2 separate regions of the Homo sapiens genome follow, and region 2 is linked to region 1. The links are contacts of gene promoters, found by promoter capture Hi-C in human tissues and cell types (Jung and others, 2019). All regions are on one chromosome and are shown on one strand. The core of a region is centred on a gene start or on the middle of the fragment in contact, and the rest is flanking DNA. Distances in the headings are between cores, read along the strand shown.

Region 1 (7,011 bases), core at 2,335-4,834:
GGTAACCAATCCAGTGCAAGTCAAGGCAGTGCCTCCAGCTTCACGCTTCCCTAGAGAGGGCTGTGCCTCTCCCATCAGACTCTCCTGGGCCGGGCTATGCCTCCCAAATCAGACTCAAAGGCAGAACTAAGCTTCTCCCACCAGACTACTCAGGAAAAGGCCTGCCTCCCCCCTCAGACTCACCAGATTCCCGAAGGTAGGAGAAGGTCTTGGCTATGCACAGCAGATCCTCCTCTGGGTCCAGCACCTTTGGCTCACTCTCTGTCTGGGCTGGGGTACCCTCTGCCACCTCCTCGAGGAAGGCCCCAGCAGGCAAGGGCTGCATGACTGGCTTGGGCAGTTCCAGGGACGGGGCCCACAGGGGCCGCTGCCCAGTCCGCTCCACAGCCAGCAAAGGACGAGGTCTAGAAGGCAGTGGATGAGCAGTGAGTGGAGGACCCATGCTTCCCCCATCTCCAGAGACCCCCCTATGCCCCAGACTAGTTTCATGACCTCTGGCTGGCCCATCTCACTATGAGCCTCAGCTTCCCCTCTACCCAGCCATGGGCTCAGTTAGTCCAGTATCTCGTTCCCCACTTGTCATCACAAAAGCCACCTTGATTGTTTCCATGTGGGGATCCTCTTTTGAAAGATTCTTTTCCACTGCCCTGCATTTACTAAACAGTAATTAATTGCTCTCTATTTTATATCAACCAAAAACACAGATCATTCCCTATAGGCATGTCTAATGTTCTCACCACACTGATAGGATTCAGTGCAAAGTAGCTTCATGTTTGTGCCCTCCTGGCTGAAGTGGGCTGATTAAATGGCCCACTGATGAATGGTCCTAGTTGAGATAGATCTACGACAGACAAGTAGATTTATCCTATGATAGATCTGTGTGGGGTCCTCCAGAGAAGCCCCAGGATTATGGTAGGCTGCCTGAGGTCACACGCTACCTCCCCATGGATAGGAGTGTCTCTCAGAGGGACCTAGGTCCACACTGGCCAGGACTTAGAGACTGAAATAATCCCCTACCCATACAAGTCAGCCTATCCTGGCCTCTGCTTCTCCCAGTGGAGGGTCTGGGGTGGACAGTGGCCTCTAAAGGCACTGGCAAGTCTCACCTCCTGTCAGTATGAGCTCCCACCAAGGGCAGGGACCTAATCCACACTCCAGTTCCCACCCTGGCAAGCCAGCCCTACCAGGCTCTACGATCTTGTACAAAGCTTGCTCTTCACTGGGCTTCAGTTTCCCTTTTCCGCAATAAAGGGTCCCACCAACCCATGCACTGAGAGGTTCAGTAACACCATATTCTTGGATGGCTGGGGTTGGGGGAACTGAGCCGACCAAAATCTGAGTAGCAGCTTTCTCCTAGGGGAAGCCCACCCAGCAGGGTGATACTAGGGCTTCCTCCTTGGGAGGGCAGCAGGGACTGGCTCTACTTCCCCAGGAAGACAGCTGCTCCTCCCTCACTCCTTGCAAAATACATCTCCAAGCCTTAGTTCTGGGTCTAGTCCCTGGCTGGGCCTCAGGACACCGCCATAATGAAACCATGGCCTTGCCCTCAAGGAGAACCAGACTGGCTGGGGAAGATGACACTAAGAGTAATTATAATGCAAAGTCATAAAACTGCAGGTGTCACGGGGGAGTCAGGGTCTGCTTGCTCCTGAGCTGTGTCTTCCAGGCCAAAGGAAGGAGCTGGGGGAAGGGACCCCAGGTAGAGAGGACAGCATGGGCAAACAGCGCCAGTATTGCTTGTGAGGCAGGAAGGCGCAGGCAGGAGCTGGTGGCAGGAGCCAGACCTGACTCCTGTGTAGGTTATAGGTGACCCTCTAGGTTCTAACAAATCATGGCCCTATGACCACTCACAGTGAGAAAGGGCCACACAACTCTGGCACACCACAGCCTGACAAAAACTTTTCCACACCTACCCTGGCTGTACTGTGGGATCTTGGAAATCCCTCTTGGAGAGCTGGAGGCCAAATTTTGAGATGACCTGCTTGCTGGGGCCCAGAGCTACCTTCCCAGGAGCATGGTTGGTGGCTAGCCAGTCAGGCTGGAACCTCTGTGGGTGGCCACGTCCAGATAGCTTAGCCGGTCCTCAGATCCCACATGTAGGTGTGGGCACCTTTGGGGCTGATGTGGTAGCTGGGTGTATGAATAGCTGTGTTGATCACCACAAGCTCCTGGTGAGTGTGTACCTGGGCAGGGGTGTGTCCATGGCTGTGTCATCATCATGGTGGGGACAGTGGCTGGTGTGTTCTAGGTACATGTGTGTGCCCGCTTTGGAGCGCAGCAGTCTAAAACTTTGTTCCCTGACACCCAACAGTAGCCCTGAGCTTACAAGGGGGTGCTCACCTAGGGTAAAAAGTGAAAGAGGCTATGGGACCCCGGAATGCAGGGGGAGGCTCCTGGGGTGGAAGGCAGTGGTGGGGCAGGTATTCAGGAGTCCCAGAATGCAGACAGGAGGAAGGAACTTGCTGGAGACAGCAAGGGAGAAGTAGTCTTCCCAGCACCTCCATGTCCTCTTCCTTGGCCTCACCTTCCACCCTCCCTCACTTGGCACCAGGCCAGTTGCGATAAGCACAGCCACCCAGTCCTCCCTGAGTGCAGAACACCCATTTATACCTTCTTCCTCTCTCCTTGGAGCTTCCTGAGCTCCTGTCACATCACCATGGCCAGCATCAGACCCTTTGGTTGAAGGGGTTGCTGAGGTTCAGGACAGAGTGGATGGCCAGGAATGCTCAGCTCAGGTCAAGACTCTGTCTTATCAGCATCCCCTCTCCACTGTCCCTTACCTCAAGTCTGGGAAATTTGAAGATGAGAGGCAGGAGCCAAGGTCCTTCTCACATTGGGATCCCAGACTGGGCTGAGACAGGGTTGTGAGACGATTGTGGGGGTACCCCAAGCAGGACCAGGCCAAACCCAGGGCCTCCCGAGAGTTGCAGACCATCAGGTGCCAGCCTGAGGAAAGGCAAGGATCTGCGGCTGGCTTCCCAAGAAGAGCCTACTTGCTAGCCTGGGGCAGGAGAGGGGACACCAGGACAGAGGGGGCCAGGGGCTGGTCCAAGGTTACTAGCAGGCAGGGCAGCAGGCAGGCTAGCGTAGAGTGCTCTGGGCCCAGAAGAATATCTGGGATTGTTGGCCACATCTTGGGGGACGCCGTGCCGTTAGCATCCATCTGCTCCAATGAGAACCCAGGCTGAGCCCACCCTGTGAGTTCCTCCTTTAGCCGGCCAGCCCCCGGTTTCCCAATCCACAGTGGGAATTGAGGTAAGTGTGTGGGGGCGGGGAGTGGGAGTGTCACAGCCCCACACAGAGCCTTGCTCCTGAGGTCCGTCTGCGCTCAGTCACCTCTGGCCCGTCAAGCCCTCCCAATGCCCGGCAGCTAGCACGAAGCCCCTGTTCTCCCGTGCGCCCCTCGTGGTGGCCGGGAAGGGGGCAGAGAGCCGCGCTTACCCCTGAACGCAGAGGACCATGTCCCCGCGGCAGCGGCGACTCCGGAGTGGGGACTCGGCTGGACGGCGGCGGCTGGAGGGAACCAGTGGGCGCGGAGCGCGTGCTGGGTAGGCTCCCGGGGCGCGCGGGCGCAGGACAGGGACTGAGAGGCAGTGGCGCGGACCGCCTGCGAGGGCGAGGGGGGCGGGCCAGACGAGCGGGGCGGGGCGAGCTGCTGCCTAATCCTTTGTCTGCCGCGTTCCAGCCCTTCCCGGAAGCAGCGTCTTCCTAGAACCGCGGGCTGAGCGGTGGGGCCCGGGCGGGGTGCGCGGGCCCCGTCGCCGGGTCTGGGGCCCTGAGCAGTGAAAGGAAATACTTTGACAGATTTCCAAGAACTTTCCAGGAAAACGGGGCGGGGCCCCGCGAGCTGACCAATCGCGACGCTGAAGGTGGAGCCGAGCGGTCGGGGAGGGCCAATAGCAGCGCGTGGACCCGGGGCTGAAGCTACCCAGAGGGGCAGGTCGGAGAGATCAGTGGGGAAAGACCGGGTCGGGGAAGTTAAGGAGGGGCCCGGGCTCAGCAACCCGCGCCCAGATTGCCTTCTGGCATTCTGCGTCGTTGGGGAAGGGCCCTCTTATCTCGCGGTGGAACTCGTGGCAGGGCGGGGGGCGGAGTCCCGGGCTTGTCCTCCCTGCGAGCGGCTCCTCCAAGGAGGTCTGTCGGCGTGTGCAAGCGCCCCGTGTTGGGACGGCCGCTCCTGGACCCTAGGACTCTGTGTGTCGGGTGTCGGATTGGGTGGCATGGGGTGAGATCTGGAGCGGGACTTAGGGCAGGGCGGGGTGCAGAGGACAGTTCCAGAAATGAGTGGGTCCACTGAGGTCAAGCCGGCGGTCACCACAGCCAGAAAGATCCAGACAAGAACGTTTTCTTTGAAAGAGTTGAAGGAGAAAGCACGCCCCAACTTTTCGAATCAGGCAGACCATCCAGTCTTGGCTGGCACTGGTTTCTGGCCGGCCCTGCCAGTCAGGGGAGAAGAGACTACAGATTTGAGAAAGCAAGCAGAGACAGCCCCAGATGGCCCGGACTCTGGGTTGGTACCACCCCCACCCCCCGCCAGAAAAAAAATGCTGAGAGAGAGTCCTGCAACTCAAAACATAGGGAGATAATCTGGGAGTAGGGTGATAGAGGTTGGGGCGGGATGGCGGGGGCAGAGTAGTAACACTCGCTCTTATCTACAGGGAGTACTTGCTGCATTTGATCCTCTACAACTGGTGTTGCTCCCGTTATGCGGACAGAAGACAGCCCCAGGGAACAAATGCTAGGAAATGGCAGGGTAAGAGCTTGGTCCCAGCTCTGAATCAGAAGCCCACGCTCCTACCAGGACCCTCTCCACCTTTTTTCAGTTCACTGGATTCACTATGGAGCATCTTGAAGGACTGTAGGGTCTGTGAATCTCCTCCAAACCCTTGGGCCAGAAGAACTGTGGGATTTGGAGAGGTTGCAGGGTCCACTCCCCACCCCCATCCCCCTCCCAGTGTGTGCCCCCAGGGTCCCCAGAAAGGAGTCTAGCTCTGAGATCCTGGGCAGGGATGACAGACCCCTGGCCTTGTTGAAGGGCCTGAACGATAGCATCCAGGGAAGACAGGGCTCAGTTTGCTCTGCCCAGAATGGCAGAGGGCAAAAGAAACCTGAAAGCAAAACCCTGTGAAACTGGGGAAAAAACGTTAAGTTTCAGATTTCAGGGCAGTCACTTCTCTGTAGCTTTCCTGAAGGGAAGCCGGGCTTCATGAGTGCAACTCTGCCAGCCCCCTCCTGAGTTGGCCAGAAGCCACTTTCTTGGAATGGGGGTAGGGGGGATGGATACCTTATAACCCACTTTGAGGGCTGGGATACCTGGATAGCCTGATATGCGGCCCCTGTGTGGACCACTGACTTGCCAGTAGGAACTGTCCACTGTCTCATTACTATGAAGACAAAAGGACTTTGCCGCTGCCAGGCAACAGAGTTACAATTTTGAACTTGGGTCTCTTATGGGGCCAAATCCCAAGCTCTCTACCAAAACTATACTTCTTCCCCCTCACCATGACTATTCAACTGAACACTTACTATGTGTCAAGCACTCTCAGCAATTTGCAGCCTCATGTCATTGTCACAACTACCACATATTATCTCCTCTTTACAGGTGAGAAAACTGAGGCATGGAGAGGTTACAATATAACTTAGATCTCCCAGCTGGCAAGTAATGGTTTAAGCCAGGAGCCTACACACTTCCTCCTACTTCCTCTATGGGTGCTGGTGATCTGCCGACTCCTAGACATCCAGCTTTAAGGTCCTCAGTGAAGCTTCTCTGCCCCCAGGCCTGTCCATGTCAGAGCACCATGGGTGTCCCTTTGAAAGTATCTCCTACAGGTCAGTGATTATGCAGTCTATGTGTAAACCAAAGGGTTCCAAGGGTTTTGGCCTTCCAACTATTTTTGTGTGTGTGTGAATATGACAGCACTGTGCACCTCACCTGCATGCTGGGAACAGTGATGTGCCCCTGTTCTGCCCCAAGTACTAAGTTGGGTCCCTCTGGCCAACTTAGTACTTAATTCTCCTGCCCTGGCTGCTCCCTAGAAACCCTGGCTCTGATTGCTGGGCCCACACTGCCACCTAGCGGTGCCCCCTCTCATGCCCTCACTAGCCAAATTTCCATAGATTCTTCTCTTCTAGGATAATCCCTCTCCTGCACCCCAGGGATTGAACTTACTGCAAGATTCCCCTGCCACTCCCTACCCAGAACAATCACAAGATGAATCACAAGAATACACAGCAGTGCCTTCCCAAAAGTCTCGCTCATTTGGCCTCCATCCTCTCACCATGTACAGCCTCCCCTCTCCAGTAAGGACAGAGTGTGTGTGTGTGTGTGTGTGTGTGTGTGTGTGTGTGTGTGTAGGATTTAGCCCCCCTCACTTTAAGCTATTCCAAAGTCTCTGTCCCCTTGGACACACAGCTACATGAAGGGCTGTGTGGCAGAGTCTGCCATCATGAACCCACTCCTGACCAGACCTAGCCATCCTGCATGCCAAATCCTCCCATCATTGTGGAGGGGATGCTGCAGGTGGTTGCTGGAACATGAGCACTAAGGGAAACCACATATTCTGACTTTCCTGGGCTAAGTGAGTAGTTTCAAGGCATCTCTCCGATGGACCCATGTGGGGAATGCGTGTGCCTGTGGAAGCATGGACACTGGTTATAGGGACTGGGAGGGGAGAAGCAGCACCTTTGCCTTACTTTTCATACTTCTGTATAATTTGAATTAATTACAATGAGGAAGTTTTACTTATGCAACTTAAAATTTTAATAAAAGAGACCAGCTTAAAAAATACAATTATAAAATTTGTAGAGCAATTATAATCTAATTCCATTTTAAAGAAAGAAGACATCTTCACAGAACATTCAGTGGGATGCCTTTGGCTGGGGCAAGGAGCCAGCCTCCACCCTCAGCTGCCTAGCCTTCTGCTCACCAGAATGACATCTTGCTCAGCCTCAGGTTCACCAGGCTCAAACTAGTTGCCTTCAGAGAGCAGAGAGCCTTCTTTGGCTCCCCCC
Region 2 (6,525 bases), core at 395-2,894, 480 kb after region 1:
TCATCCTAACTCATTCTATGAGACCAGCGTTACACATTACACTGATAGTAAGTCAGACAAGGACACAAGAAAAAAAAGATGGGCCAGTATCCTTGATGAACACAATAAATACAGACACAAAAATCCTCAGCAAAATACTAGCAAATTGAATCCAACAACATGTCAAAAAGATTATAAACCATAATCAAATGGAATTTATCCCAGTGATGCAAGCGTGGTTCAACATGTGCAAATCAATCAGTGTGATACATCACATTGACAGAATGAAGGACAAAAACAATATGATCATCTCAATAGTCACAGAAAAAGCATTTGATAAAATTTAACATCTTTTCCTGTTAAAAACTCTCAACAAGTTAGACATGGAAGGAAAATACCTCAGCATAAAAGCTGTATATGACACATCCACAGCTGACATCATACTGAATGAGGAAAAGCTGAAATACTTTCCTCTAAGACTGGAACAAGACAAAGATACCCACTTTTAATTCTCCTATTCAACATAGTACTTGAAGTCCTAGCCAGAGCAATCAAGCAAGAGAAAGAAATAAAAGGCATTTAAATTGGAAAGGTAGAAGTCAAATTGTTCCTCTTTGTAGATGATATAATCTTATATATAGAAAAACCTAAAGACTACTAAAAATCTCTTAGAACTGATATACTGATATACTTAGAACTCTTATACACTGTTGGTGGGAATGTAAATTAGTACAGCCACTATGGAAAACAGTATGAGACTTCCCAAAAAACAAAACAGAACCACCATTTGATCCAGCAGTCCTACTACTGGATATTTATCAAAAAGAAAGAAAAATCAGTATATAAATGAGACACCAGCACCCTTGTGTTTATTGCAGCACTGTTCACAATAGCCAAGATATAGAATTAATCTAAGTGTTTGTTAACAGATGAAAGGATGAAGAAAATGTGGCATATATGCACAATGGAATACTATTCTGCCATAAAAAGAATGAAATACTGTCATTTGTAGCAGCATGGATGGAACTAGAGGTCAATATGTTAAATGAAATAAGCCGGGCACAGAAAGACAAATATCTCATGTTCTATCATATGTAGGGGCTAAAAAACAAAAACAAAAACAAAAAAATGTGCATCTCTTGGAGATAGGGAATAAAAAAGTGGTTACCAAAGGTTGAGAATCGTGGGGTGGTGGGGTTGAAGAGAGGTTGCTCAGCAAATACAAACATCTAGTTAGAAGGAATAAGTTCTCGTGTTTGATAGCACAGTGGGGTGAGTGTAGTTAACAGTAATTTATTCTACATTTCAAAGTAGCTAGAAGAGAAGATTTGAAATGTTCCCAACAGAAAGAAATGATAAATGTTTGAGGCAATGAATATTCTAAATACCCTGATTTGATAATTATACATTGTATGCATGTATCAAAATATCACATGTACTTCATAAATATTTTAAAATATTATGTATCAATTTAAACATTTTTAAAAAATTGAAAACCTAGGATTCTCACTTCTGCACTTAGGTCCCTAACTTCTATATCATAGTGATGCTCATGTAATTTGAGCTTCACAATAACTTTGTAAGGAAGATAATACAGGCTCTTATCTGAATTTTATGTTCAGGAAAATGTCTCCTGGAGAGATTAAGTGATTTGTCTGAAATTTCACAGTCTTTGAGTGGCAAAGCTTGAATTAGAATCTGCTTCTTCTCATTTCAGCCAGCCAGCAGTAAAGGAACAGCATGGGGAAGTGTTTGGGAGGGAGCCCTTTATTGTTAAAGGCATCATTGTGGAAAGTCTGAAGAAGCTGGATCAGGCAGCTCAGAAAGTGGTACAGTATATGGAGAGGACAGTGGCAAAGCAAAAATTTAGTACCAGGCACCGACTTGTGACTTGTCTGTTAGTCAGATCTGGAAGGGCTCAGGTTTGAATCTGGATTTTGCCACTTTCTTGCTATGTGACCTTCAGCAAATTACGTCCATACTCTAAGCCTTAGTTGTCTCCACCAAATACGAATAACACTTATTTTACAAAGTTATCAGAATTAAATGAGATCATGAATATAAAAGGCATAGCAGACTGCCCAGCATATAGAAAGTTCTTAATAAAATTTAGTTTCTTTCCCGGTAGAGTTTATTTTTCTTTCCTTCTTTCCATAGCATTTATCTAGCCGGCAGAGTGTACAGCAAAGCACATCCCAGGTAAGCGGCTTTCCTGGGTCTTCCAGCCTTTCCCCTCAACTTTTTCTGTTAAGAGATTACAACATATGAATACACCAGGAAATGACAGACACCACTGACTTCTTGACTGTGTGGTGTCTTTATCTGAGGAGCTTTGACCTCTAAACAGTTTTGGCCAGACTCTACTTCTACTGTGCAGATTTGCATAAGCACAATTAAAGCAGACTGAAACTAAAATGAATCAGTCTGGGAGAAAATAAAAATGTTATTTAGAATGGTAACTATTACGAGGTAACAGTGTAAATCAAGCGCATTGGGGTCATAATGGCATTTCTTTAAAATGAGTTTGAAAATGGTTTTCCGGGCTGGGCGTGGTGGCTCATGCCTGTAATCCCAGCACATTGGGAGGCCAAGGCAGGTGGATCACCTGAAGTCAGGAGTTTGAGACCAGCCTGGTCAACATGGTGAAACCTACTAAAAATAAAAAAATTAGCTGGGCATGATGGTGGGTGCCTGTAATCCCAGCTACTCAGGAGGCTGAGGGAGGAGAATTGCTTGAACCCGGGAGTAGAGTGCAGTGAGCCGAGATCATGCTACTGCACTCCAGTCTGGGTGACAGAGTGAGACTCTGTCTCAAAAAAAAAAAAAAAAAAAAAAAGGAAAAAGAAAATGGTTTCCTGGAGAACTAAGATATTTGTCACCTGGTGGAGATTTTTAGTTCACTTGTAAGTTGGAATTACTGTCCCTATATTTCTTCACTGTTTACTCCTCCCAGCTGCTTGCTTGCCCACCTCAACCCAAGTCTGTTGATGCAGCATCCCCTACAAGCAGAGAAAACATCTTCAGTTTCTCAAATAATCTCCTTCAGTAGTGTGAAAAGAGTTTGTAATTTAGTTTCCACTTTTTAATGATCAATATAAAAAATAACTAAAATAAAAATCACTGGGTTTTTTTCTTCCTCATTAGGTAGATACAATGCGCCCACGTCATGGGGAAACATGTCGGATGCCAGTGCCACATCACTTCTTCCTCAGCCTGAAGAGTTTCACTTACAATACTATTGGGGAAGATACCGATGTCTTCTTTTCCTTATATGACATGAGGGAAGGCAAGCAGATCAGGTGAGAGTCACTGGAAATTCTGGTGAGGTTCTATGTTAGGATGGTATGGGTCATAGGCATCTCTGGCCATCAGAGAAGACAGATGCACAGAAGAGGCAAAACAAGATAAAGTAACCTCATCTCATTAGCTAGGAGTTTTGGCCCCAATTCCCTGTGTGCCCTTAAGTCACGTAAACCATACCATGGGTGGCTGCCTTTTTTATGACTTTTTCCACATAGAAGCTCAAAATCGAGTCTTGGCTATCACCACCTCACAGAGAGAAAAGGATGCATCTATTTAATACCACAAAAAAGGCATAGGAGAAACATAGAACCAAACAAATGCAGCAGAGACACACAGCTCCAGAGTGCAGGAAGCCCTGGGCCTTGGCTTGCTGCATGTGGAAGAGAGGGTTTGAAGAAAAAGGGGGCTGATGGTGTCTTGTCTGGGCAGCCCATGAAAGGAGAGCATCTTCTGAGTTTCTTTTATATTGCTTGGGAACTTCTTGTGTTAGGAGTGCTTTATGGCTTTTACTTGCTTTAGTACTTAAAATTCGAAAGCAGATTTTTCACTTTTCCAATTATATATTATATGTGGGAAAATTAGAAATGGAAGTTATAACAGAATGCAAAAGAAAAACAGTTAATTTATATGCCCCACAGTGCCTCTGATCTTGACAAAAATATTAATACACTATGCTTTACTTTGGCATAGGAATAAAATGATGCACCCATTGATCAGGACATGTGAATTTTCCTTATCACCAATGGCTCCTAGTATGTGCCCTTGGGAAAGTTATTGTAGAGAAGGTAGTAGTGGTATTGATGAAAGCTAAAACTGTTGCATGTAGGCAAGACTACAGGCCAGGGCTGTGTGGATATAGATTCTGGCTGCTCTTCTTTTCCTACTATCCAGATGTTTGTAAACTTTATTTGTGTGTGTGAGAGTGTGTATGTGTGTGTAAAAATCCTTTCTTCAAGCTACATTTTATGAAAAAGTCCAATATATGAAACAGATAAAACTATTCCATTATTGTGGCCCAGGAGCAATGGCTCACGACTGTAATGCCACCACTTTGGGAGGCCGAGGAGGGCGAATCACGAAGTCAGGAGTTTGAGACCAGCCTGACCAACATAGTGAAACCCCATCTCTACCAAAAATACAAAAAATTAGCTGGGCGTGGTGGCGGGCTCCTGTAAGCCCAGCTATTCAGGAGGCTGAGGCAGGAAAATCGCTTCAACCTGGGAGGCGGAGGTTGCACTGAGCCGGGATGGTGCCACTGCACTATAGCCCAGCTGACAGTGTGAGACTTGGTCTCAAAAAAAAAAAAAAAAAAAAGATGGATTGTTGGCAAGATGGCTGAATAGGAACAGCTCTGGTCTGCAGCTCCCAGCAAGATTGATGCAGAAGGCGGGTGATTTCTGCATTTCAGCCGAGGTACCCGGTTCATCTCACTGGGACTGGTTGGACAGTGGGTGCAGCCCATGGAGGGCAAGCCGAAGCAGGGTGGCGCATTGCCTCACCTGGGAAGTGCAAGGGGTTGGGGAATTTTCTCCCCTACCCAAGGGGAGCCATGAGGTACTGAGCCTGACGAACTGTGCACTCTGGCCCAGATAGTGCGCTTGTCCCATGGTCTTTGCAACCCGCAGACCAGGAGATTCCCTCTGGTGCCTAACACATCAGAGACCTGGGTTTCAAGCACAAAACTGGGTAGCTGTTTGAGCAGGCACCAAACTAGCTGCAGGAGTTTGTTTTTCTCCATAACCCATTGGCACCTGGAACGCCAGTGATACAGAACTGTTCACTCCTCTGGAAAGGGGTGCTGAAGCCAGGAAGCCAAGTGGTCTGGTTTGGCAGGTCCCACCCCCATGGAGCCCAGCAAACTAAAAGATTCACTGGCTTGAAATTCTCACTGCCAGCACAGCAGCAGACTGAGATCGACCTGGGATGCTCGAGCTTGGTTGGGGGAGGGACATCTGCCATTACTGAGGCTTGAGTAGGTGGTTTTATGCTCACGGTGTAAACAAAGCCGCTGGGAAGTTTGAACTGGGCGGAGCCCACTGCAGCTCAGTAAGGCTGCTGTGGCCAGACTGCCAGATTTCTCCTCTCTGGGCAGGGCATCTCTGAAAAAAAGGCAGCAGCCCCAGTCAGGGACTTATAGATAAAACCCCCATCTCCCTGGGACAGAGCACCTGGGGGAAGGAGCAGCTGTGGGCGCAGCTTCAGCAGACTTTAGTTTCCCTGCCTGATGGCTCTGAAGAGAGCAGCGGACCTCCTAGCACAGCGTTTGAGCTCTGCTAAGGGTCAGACTGCCTCCTCAAGTGGGTCCCTGACCCCCATATATCCTGACTGGGAGACACCTCCCAGTAAGGGCCTACAGACACCTTATACAAGAGAGCTCTGGCTGGCATCTGGCAGTTGCCCCTCTGGGACGAAGCTTCCAGACGAAAGAACAGGCAGCAATTTAATCCATCTTGAGTTAATTTTTGTATAAGGTGTAAGGAACGGGTTCCGTTGCAGTTTTCTGCATATGGCTAGCCAGTTTTCCCGACACCATTTATTAAATAGGGAATCATTTCCCCATTGCTTGTTTGTGTTAAGTTTGTCAAAGATCAAATGGTTGTAGATGTGTGGTGTTATTTCTGAGGCCTCTCTTCTGTTCCATTGGCCTATATATCCGTTTTGGTACCAGTAACACGATGTTTTGGTTACCGTAGCCTTGTAGTATAGTTTGAAGTCAGAGAGCATGATGCCTCTGGCTTGGTTCTTTTTGCTTAGGATTGTCTTGGCTATGCAGGCTCTTTTTTGGTTCCATATGAAATTTAAAGTAGTTTTTTCTAATTCTGTGAAGAAAGTCAGTAGTAGCTTGATGGGGATAGCATTGAATCTATAAATTACTTCAGGCAGTATGGCCATTTTCATTATATTGATTCTTCCCATCCATGAGCAAATGGAATGTTTTTCCATTTGTTTGTGTCCTCTCTGATTTCCTTGAGCAGTGGTTTGTAGTTCTCCATGCAGAGGTCCTTCACATCCCTTGTAAGTTGTATTCCTAGGTATTTTATTGTCTTTGTAGCAATTGTGAATTGGAGTTCACTCGTGATTTTGCTCTCTGCTCATCTATTATTGGTGTATAGGAATGCTTGTGATGTTTGCACATTGATTTTGTATCCTGAGACTTTGCTGAAGTTACTTATCAGCTTAAGGAGATTTTGGGCTGAGACGATGGGGTTTTCTAAATTTACAATCATGTCATCTGCAAACAGA

Evidence for each region. Contacts are between HindIII fragments. The study calls those that stand out against the background at their distance.
Region 2: a contact is called between a fragment that was not itself captured here and the fragment with the promoter of CISH in region 1, in 1 of the 25 tissues and cell types used here (dorsolateral prefrontal cortex).

What each region holds. Positions count from the first base shown.
Region 1 is chr3:50,608,190-50,615,200 of GRCh38, forward strand. It overlaps CISH (cytokine inducible SH2 containing protein), which reads right to left and starts at 3,585. Exons shown (of 3, transcript NM_145071.4): 1 at 3,442-3,585; 2 at 184-404. The coding sequence starts at 3,461. It also overlaps a transcript of MAPKAPK3 not described here. RefSeq lists enhancers at 2,544-3,104, 4,014-4,103 and a silencer at 3,454-3,933. The HindIII fragment of the contact is 7,054 bases long and covers 670-7,011 here.
Region 2 is chr3:51,087,107-51,093,631 of GRCh38, forward strand. DOCK3 (dedicator of cytokinesis 3) reads left to right here. Exons shown (of 53, transcript NM_004947.5): 8 at 2,137-2,178; 9 at 3,124-3,278. Among named protein-coding and RNA genes, the nearest start is that of MANF, 290 kb to the right of the region's middle. The HindIII fragment of the contact is 4,069 bases long and covers 1-3,679 here.